Linked DNA regions of Homo sapiens: region 2 is linked to region 1. Evidence: promoter capture Hi-C in 16 types of primary human blood cells and fetal thymus (Javierre and others, 2016). All regions are on one chromosome and are shown on one strand. The core of a region is centred on a gene start or on the middle of the fragment in contact, and the rest is flanking DNA. Distances in the headings are between cores, read along the strand shown. Region 1 holds the start of PLD4 (phospholipase D family member 4). Region 2 overlaps AHNAK2 (AHNAK nucleoprotein 2).

Region 1 (2,736 bases), core at 64-2,563:
GGGTACAAGAGCGAGACTTCTCTCAAAGGAAAAAGAAAAAAAAAAAGACAGAAGAGAACCTGTTCTGTCTAACTGCCTTTTGCTTGAGTGCAGGGAAGGCAGCCTCCCTTCATACTCATGCCCCAGCCCTGCAAATGTCACAGCAGGACCCACCTGGCTGCCCCTCCCCATACCCAGAGTAACCCTCACCCAGAGTCCCTGGAGGACCCAACCCTCGGGGGCATGCCTGGGGCCCAGCTGCATTCAGGCATCCAGCAACCCAGCCAGAGGGCTGGGGCTCCCCAACCATGGCCGGGAGGTAAGGGCTGAACCCAAGGCCAAATCAGAGCATCAGGAAGGTGAAGAGAGATCTGGGAGGGGCTAGGGAGAGGATGGATCTCTTCCCCATTCACTTCCTGGCCCACCCAGACTGGCCCCAGGGGTGCAGCTGACAGGCCCCACCCTTGGGAACTGCACCCTCCTGACTGGTGTCCTGCAGGCACCCTGAGGCCATCACCCTGGACCCCTGCCCTACATAGGCCTTACAAGGAGGAGCCAGGGTGGACACCCAGACCTCATTGAAAGTAGGAGTGTTCTCAAGGTCCCAGACCTTACTCAGGGACCCCAGTCGGGGGGTGGGGCAGTGGGAGGCAGAGCCCCTTGCTAGGAGCTTCTAGCCAGGCCCACCTTTTCAGATATGCCAGTGAGCAGCCCCAGCTTCGTTCTCCAAGATAAAGACCCTAGTTACCTCCATTGCTCAGCCTCCCTTGCAGCTAAGTGTAGCCATGTGACTAAGTTCTAGATCAAGTTCCAGATCACAGATAAGTGGAAGTGCCCTGTGGGACTTCCAGGAAGTCTCCTCTGGGATGTCCCTTATTCTCTGCTAAGAACACAGAGGCAATGGCTGAGTTCCAGCAGCCACTGTGAGGCCATGAAGGCAGGGATCCTAGGGACTGGGATCTGAGAGCCTGGCTCCCAATGGCAGTGGAGCAATGCCATCATCTCTAGCAAGGCCGTCTCTAGCCTGCCAGCCCCTGGACCTGCTTAGTGTTCGAGAGTAATGAACAACCTTGCTGAAGCCACTGTTCCTTAGGTGTCTGTGGCCTGCAGCTGAACTTGACTCCGATTCGTAGGCCCGCAACTGGAGGGCCTCTACCTCGAGGGAGTGGGGTGTAGATTTTTCCTGGAGGTGAAGGTTCTCAGCCCTACCCTCTAGCCCGCCCACCCAGCTCCAGCCGTCTGTTTCTGTCTCAGATGAGAGGGGGCCTCTCAGGACAAAGAGGAAGTAGCTGGAAGGGGAAGGAGCCAGCTGCAGAGAGGAGGAGGTGAGCTGCAGAGAAGAGGAGGTTGGTGTGGAGCACAGGCAGCACCGAGCCTGCCCCGTGAGCTGAGGGCCTGCAGTCTGCGGCTGGAATCAGGATAGACACCAAGGCAGGACCCCCAGAGGTATGTGCCAATGAGGCCAGGGCAGCTGAGAAAAGCCAGGCATGGGGAAAGGGCTGCTGTCTGCCTCCCTATGGCCTCAGCCTCCCAGCAACCCCAGGTCCAGAGAGTCACACAGCCTCCAGCTAGTCCTGTAGATGACTCGCTCCGTCCCCAGTCCGTGCAGCTGGGATAAGCTGGGCCCTGGCTCTCCAGCCAGGTGACAGCTGGGCCCTCTACCTCAGCCTGGGACTGGCAGCCATGCCTAATGCCCTGCAGGGCAGGAAATCTGGCACCTTCAGCCATGACCTCTGATGTCTGCAGGGTCTTACGCTATCTACCATGGGACCAGGGGGCTACAGCCCTACTCTGCAGGGGTCTCTCAGCTTGAGCCAACCTGGCTGGCGGTCCTCCCAGGTTCCATTGCAGGAGGAGGTGGTGAGGCGCTCTGGGGTCTGTAGTCCTGGGAGGGGACTTGGACAGGCTCCAAGTCTGAGATGGGGCCTGCAAGAGGCAGCGCCTCTGTGCTCTGAGCTGCCCGTCTGCCTGGAGCATTTAAGGGAGCAAAGGTCCTCTCTGGTGAGGGCAGGGAGTGTGGGGAGCAGCTGTCCAAGAACAGCCCTGGCACCTCGTTGCCCAGCCACAGCCCAGGATTCCATGTTTCCTCTCATTGACCAGCCACAGCCCAGGATTCCATGTTTCCTCTTCTGAGAGTTAGTGGGGGAGAGCAAAGGCCCGATGCTGGGCCCTGAATCCCTGGGGACAGTGGGGACACGGTGGGCACCCTGAGGTCTCCTCTGTGGGGTGGGGGGAGCATCCCCCAGAGTTCAGCTCTGGGGTGGGGGCGGCACCCACCCACCTCTGCAGGACCCCCCAGCGTGGGGGGAGTTGGGCCGCAGTGACTTGGCCTGAGTCCCCTGTCCCCACACTTGGTTTATGCTCCTACCCCCAATCCCCCATAACGCTTGGTCTCCAGGGCAGACTCAGTCCAGGCCCGACTCCTGTGGTGTTCCTGGCATTTCCGCCCCATGCTGAGGCAGGCCAGGTTCTCAAAGCCCTCAGCCCTGACCCGTGGGAGGACAGCCCAGACGAACCCCAGAGGCCTGGAGGCTGAGCTGGCTGCTCCTGGGTGGACAGCCGACCCACCGAGCCCTGGGTCCCAGCGCCCAGCCTGGCTGCAGACACTGGCACTCAGCACTGCCCAGGCCCAGGCCCCAAACCTCGGAGACATCCCCATCCCAGCCAGGGGCCAGCCAGCTCCTGCCCTGGTGGATGTCTCAGTCAGAGGCTGGCCAGCCAGGTGACCATGCTGGGCACAGACCCCTCCCTGCACCC
Region 2 (2,736 bases), core at 126-2,625, 33 kb after region 1:
TCAGACTCCACCCCAGGGAGGGGTGGAGAGGGCCAGGACCAGATGTAGCCTTCTGGAGCCCCTGCCCTTCCCCAGGCCTGACAAGGGGGACAAGAACACCCCTCCTCCCCAGGGCACGGGGCACACTGCCAGCCTCTTTGCTCCTCCCCTGCCTGCTCTGACCTCGGACTCTCTGGCTGGATCCCTTGAGGACCGACACACCTCTGTGACCCTCAGCTCCTGCTGTACCCACCTCTGGACGACTCATCCTGAAAAATGTCCGTGAGTCCCCTGAATCTCGCTTCCACCAGGATCTCCGTCTCCCAGCAGAACCTTGCCTGCCGGGGGCGTCTTCCTGCAGCCACAAGTGTTGGGAGTTAGGCACCTGCCCCAGCTCAGGGACAGGGAGGGGCACAGGTAGGCTGGTGCCAGACCAGGAGCCCTCCCTTCAGAGGGGCCCAGAACTTCCAACACACAGCTGTGTGCAGAGGCAGCCGAGTTCCTCCAGGCACATCCACAGAGAAAAGGCAACTCTCGGCCTTCCTGCTTCCCGACAGGGCCCAGCCTACAGCCCACAGCACCCACCCTACAGCCCACAGCGCCCATAGGGAAGCCCCACAGCAACTGGAGTTTTGTATGGAGGGAGATAAGAAATTCAAATTGTACAAAAATGAATCCTTTCATAGACATGCCTCCTCTGATCCCTTCCCCGAGTCCTTGTCTCCAGAGGTAGCCATGGGGCCCTGTCCCCAAAGACAGCATGAGTGTGTTACACAGGTGCAGGGATGCACACACCCTGTGCCCCTGAAACACAAACACAGTAACATGAGGCCTGTCCCCATCAGCCCATACGCATGCTCACAAGAGCTGCAGGGCACCTCCATCCCACTGTGCCCTGGCCGGCCACAGGGAGGGACCCAAGGGCACAGAGGAGTCTGAGAGGACATCTGAGTGGGCACTGCCCAGTGGGCAGCGGGGCAGGGCAGCAAGGTTGAACAGACATGCGTGAGTTGCCCACACAGGGCGATGCAGGAGGAGACCTGGGTGCCTGTGGGGCTCTGCCCAGCAGGCTCACCTGGAGTCCAAAGTCGGCAGCCTCAGTCGTGTATTCGTAGACAGGTGAAGACCCCTGCGGCCGTGGTCGAATGCCCTCATCCGCAGGCCCTTCAGTCACCTGACGGGAGAGAATCCAGTTATTTTTGCCACTCGGTTCTCCCAGGGCCCAGGGAGAATGGGGGCAGGGTATGAGGAGGACACACTTCCTCCTGCTCTCACTTACAGAGTGGTCATCTTCCGTTTCTGCACCTGGCTCCCCGGGCTGCAGCTGACGGCCGGACACTGCAGAGAGAGTGGCTGTCAGTGGAGACAAGCAGGCTGGGGGAGCAGATCGGGGCCCGGGGGAGGGAGCCAGGACTGTATGTACACTGTGGAGGTGTCATAGTCCTTTCCTGGACACTGGATCGGAGAGCAAACTCAGGGGCTGGGGGAAGATCTATAGCCAATGGGCTGGAGAGGCTGAGGCATCACGTCAGGTAGCAGTGAATTGAGACTGGACTTATTCCAAGTTGGAACAGATTTAGTCCAAGAAAGTGACTAAACAAACACAAGGCGTTTGTTATTGTATAACCACACCCTGGGAGGATCAGAATCCAGAGCTGCCAGAATATATTATCTAAAATGTCCAGCAGCCACCAAAAAATTACAAGTTACGCGAAGAAACAAGAATGTATGGTCCATACTGAGAAACAAAGCAGTGAATGGAAAGTGTCTCTAAATGTCTACTAATGCTGGGTTTAATACAGACTTCAAAGAAACTATTAAAAGTTTGTTCAGGCCGGGCACGGTGGCTCATGCCTGTAATCCCAGGACTTTGGGAGGCTGAGGCGGGTGGATCACCTGAGGTTGGGAGTTCGAGACCAGCCTCACCAACATGGAGAAACCCCATCTCTACTAAAAATACAAAATTAGCCAGGCATGGTGGCACATGCCTGTAATCCCAGCTACTCAGGAGGCTGAGGTAGGAGAATCACTTGAACCTGGGAGGCGGAGGTTGTGGTGAGCCGAGATTGTGCCATTGTACTCCAGCCTGGGCAACAAGAGTGAAACTCCGTCTCAAAAAGAAAAAAAAAAGTTTGTTCAAAACACAAAAACAAATCATGTTTAAAAAATTAATGGAAAATATGTTAACAATGGCTCAATGAAGAGAGAATCTCATAAAGAAATAAAACTTATTTTTTAAAAGCAAGCAAAAATTCTGGAGTTGAAAATTTACTACTGGGGTTCACCAACAGATTTGAGATACCAGAAGAATTATCAACTTGTAGATTAATATAAATTAACCAATTTGAAGAACGGGGTCAGGGGGAAGATTGTTTGAAGAAAAACAGAGTCTCAGAGCATTAACCATAAGATAAAGAGGCAGAAGAGAGAGTTGAAGAAGTGATAGCTGAAAACAATCTGCAGAATCCAAGAAGCGCGACCAGACCTAAGCAGGAGAAACACAGAGATCCACACCTAGAAACGTCACAGTCAAAATGCTTAAGAGAAAGGGCCCCATCACATAATAAGGGCACAAAAATACAACTAACACCTGAATCACATCAAAACCATAGAAGCTACGAGAAAGTGGAACAATATATTCAAAGGGCTGAAAGAAACTGTTGTCAACGAAGAATTTGATATCAAGCAACCTATCCTTCCAAAAATAAAGGCAAAATAGTCTGGGCATGCTGGCTTATGCCTGTAATCCCAGCACTT

What was found. Contacts are between HindIII fragments. The CHiCAGO score rates a contact against its expected background, and 5 or more counts as called.
Region 2: a contact is called between a fragment that was not itself captured here and the fragment with the promoter of PLD4 in region 1, in 1 of 17 cell types (endothelial precursors). The highest score is 5.1, in endothelial precursors.

The regions. Positions count from the first base shown.
Region 1 is chr14:104,923,566-104,926,301 of GRCh38, forward strand. It overlaps PLD4 (phospholipase D family member 4), which reads left to right and starts at 1,314. Exons shown (of 11, transcript NM_138790.5): 1 at 1,314-1,425. RefSeq lists enhancers at 1,487-1,656, 1,639-2,148. The HindIII fragment of the contact is 16,221 bases long and covers 1-2,736 here.
Region 2 is chr14:104,956,356-104,959,091 of GRCh38, forward strand. AHNAK2 (AHNAK nucleoprotein 2) reads right to left here. Exons shown (of 7, transcript NM_138420.4): 2 at 1,259-1,317; 3 at 1,055-1,153; 4 at 233-334. Among named protein-coding and RNA genes, the nearest start is that of AHNAK2, 21 kb to the right of the region's middle. RefSeq lists an enhancer at 673-842 and a cis regulatory region at 758. The HindIII fragment of the contact is 4,463 bases long and covers 1-2,736 here.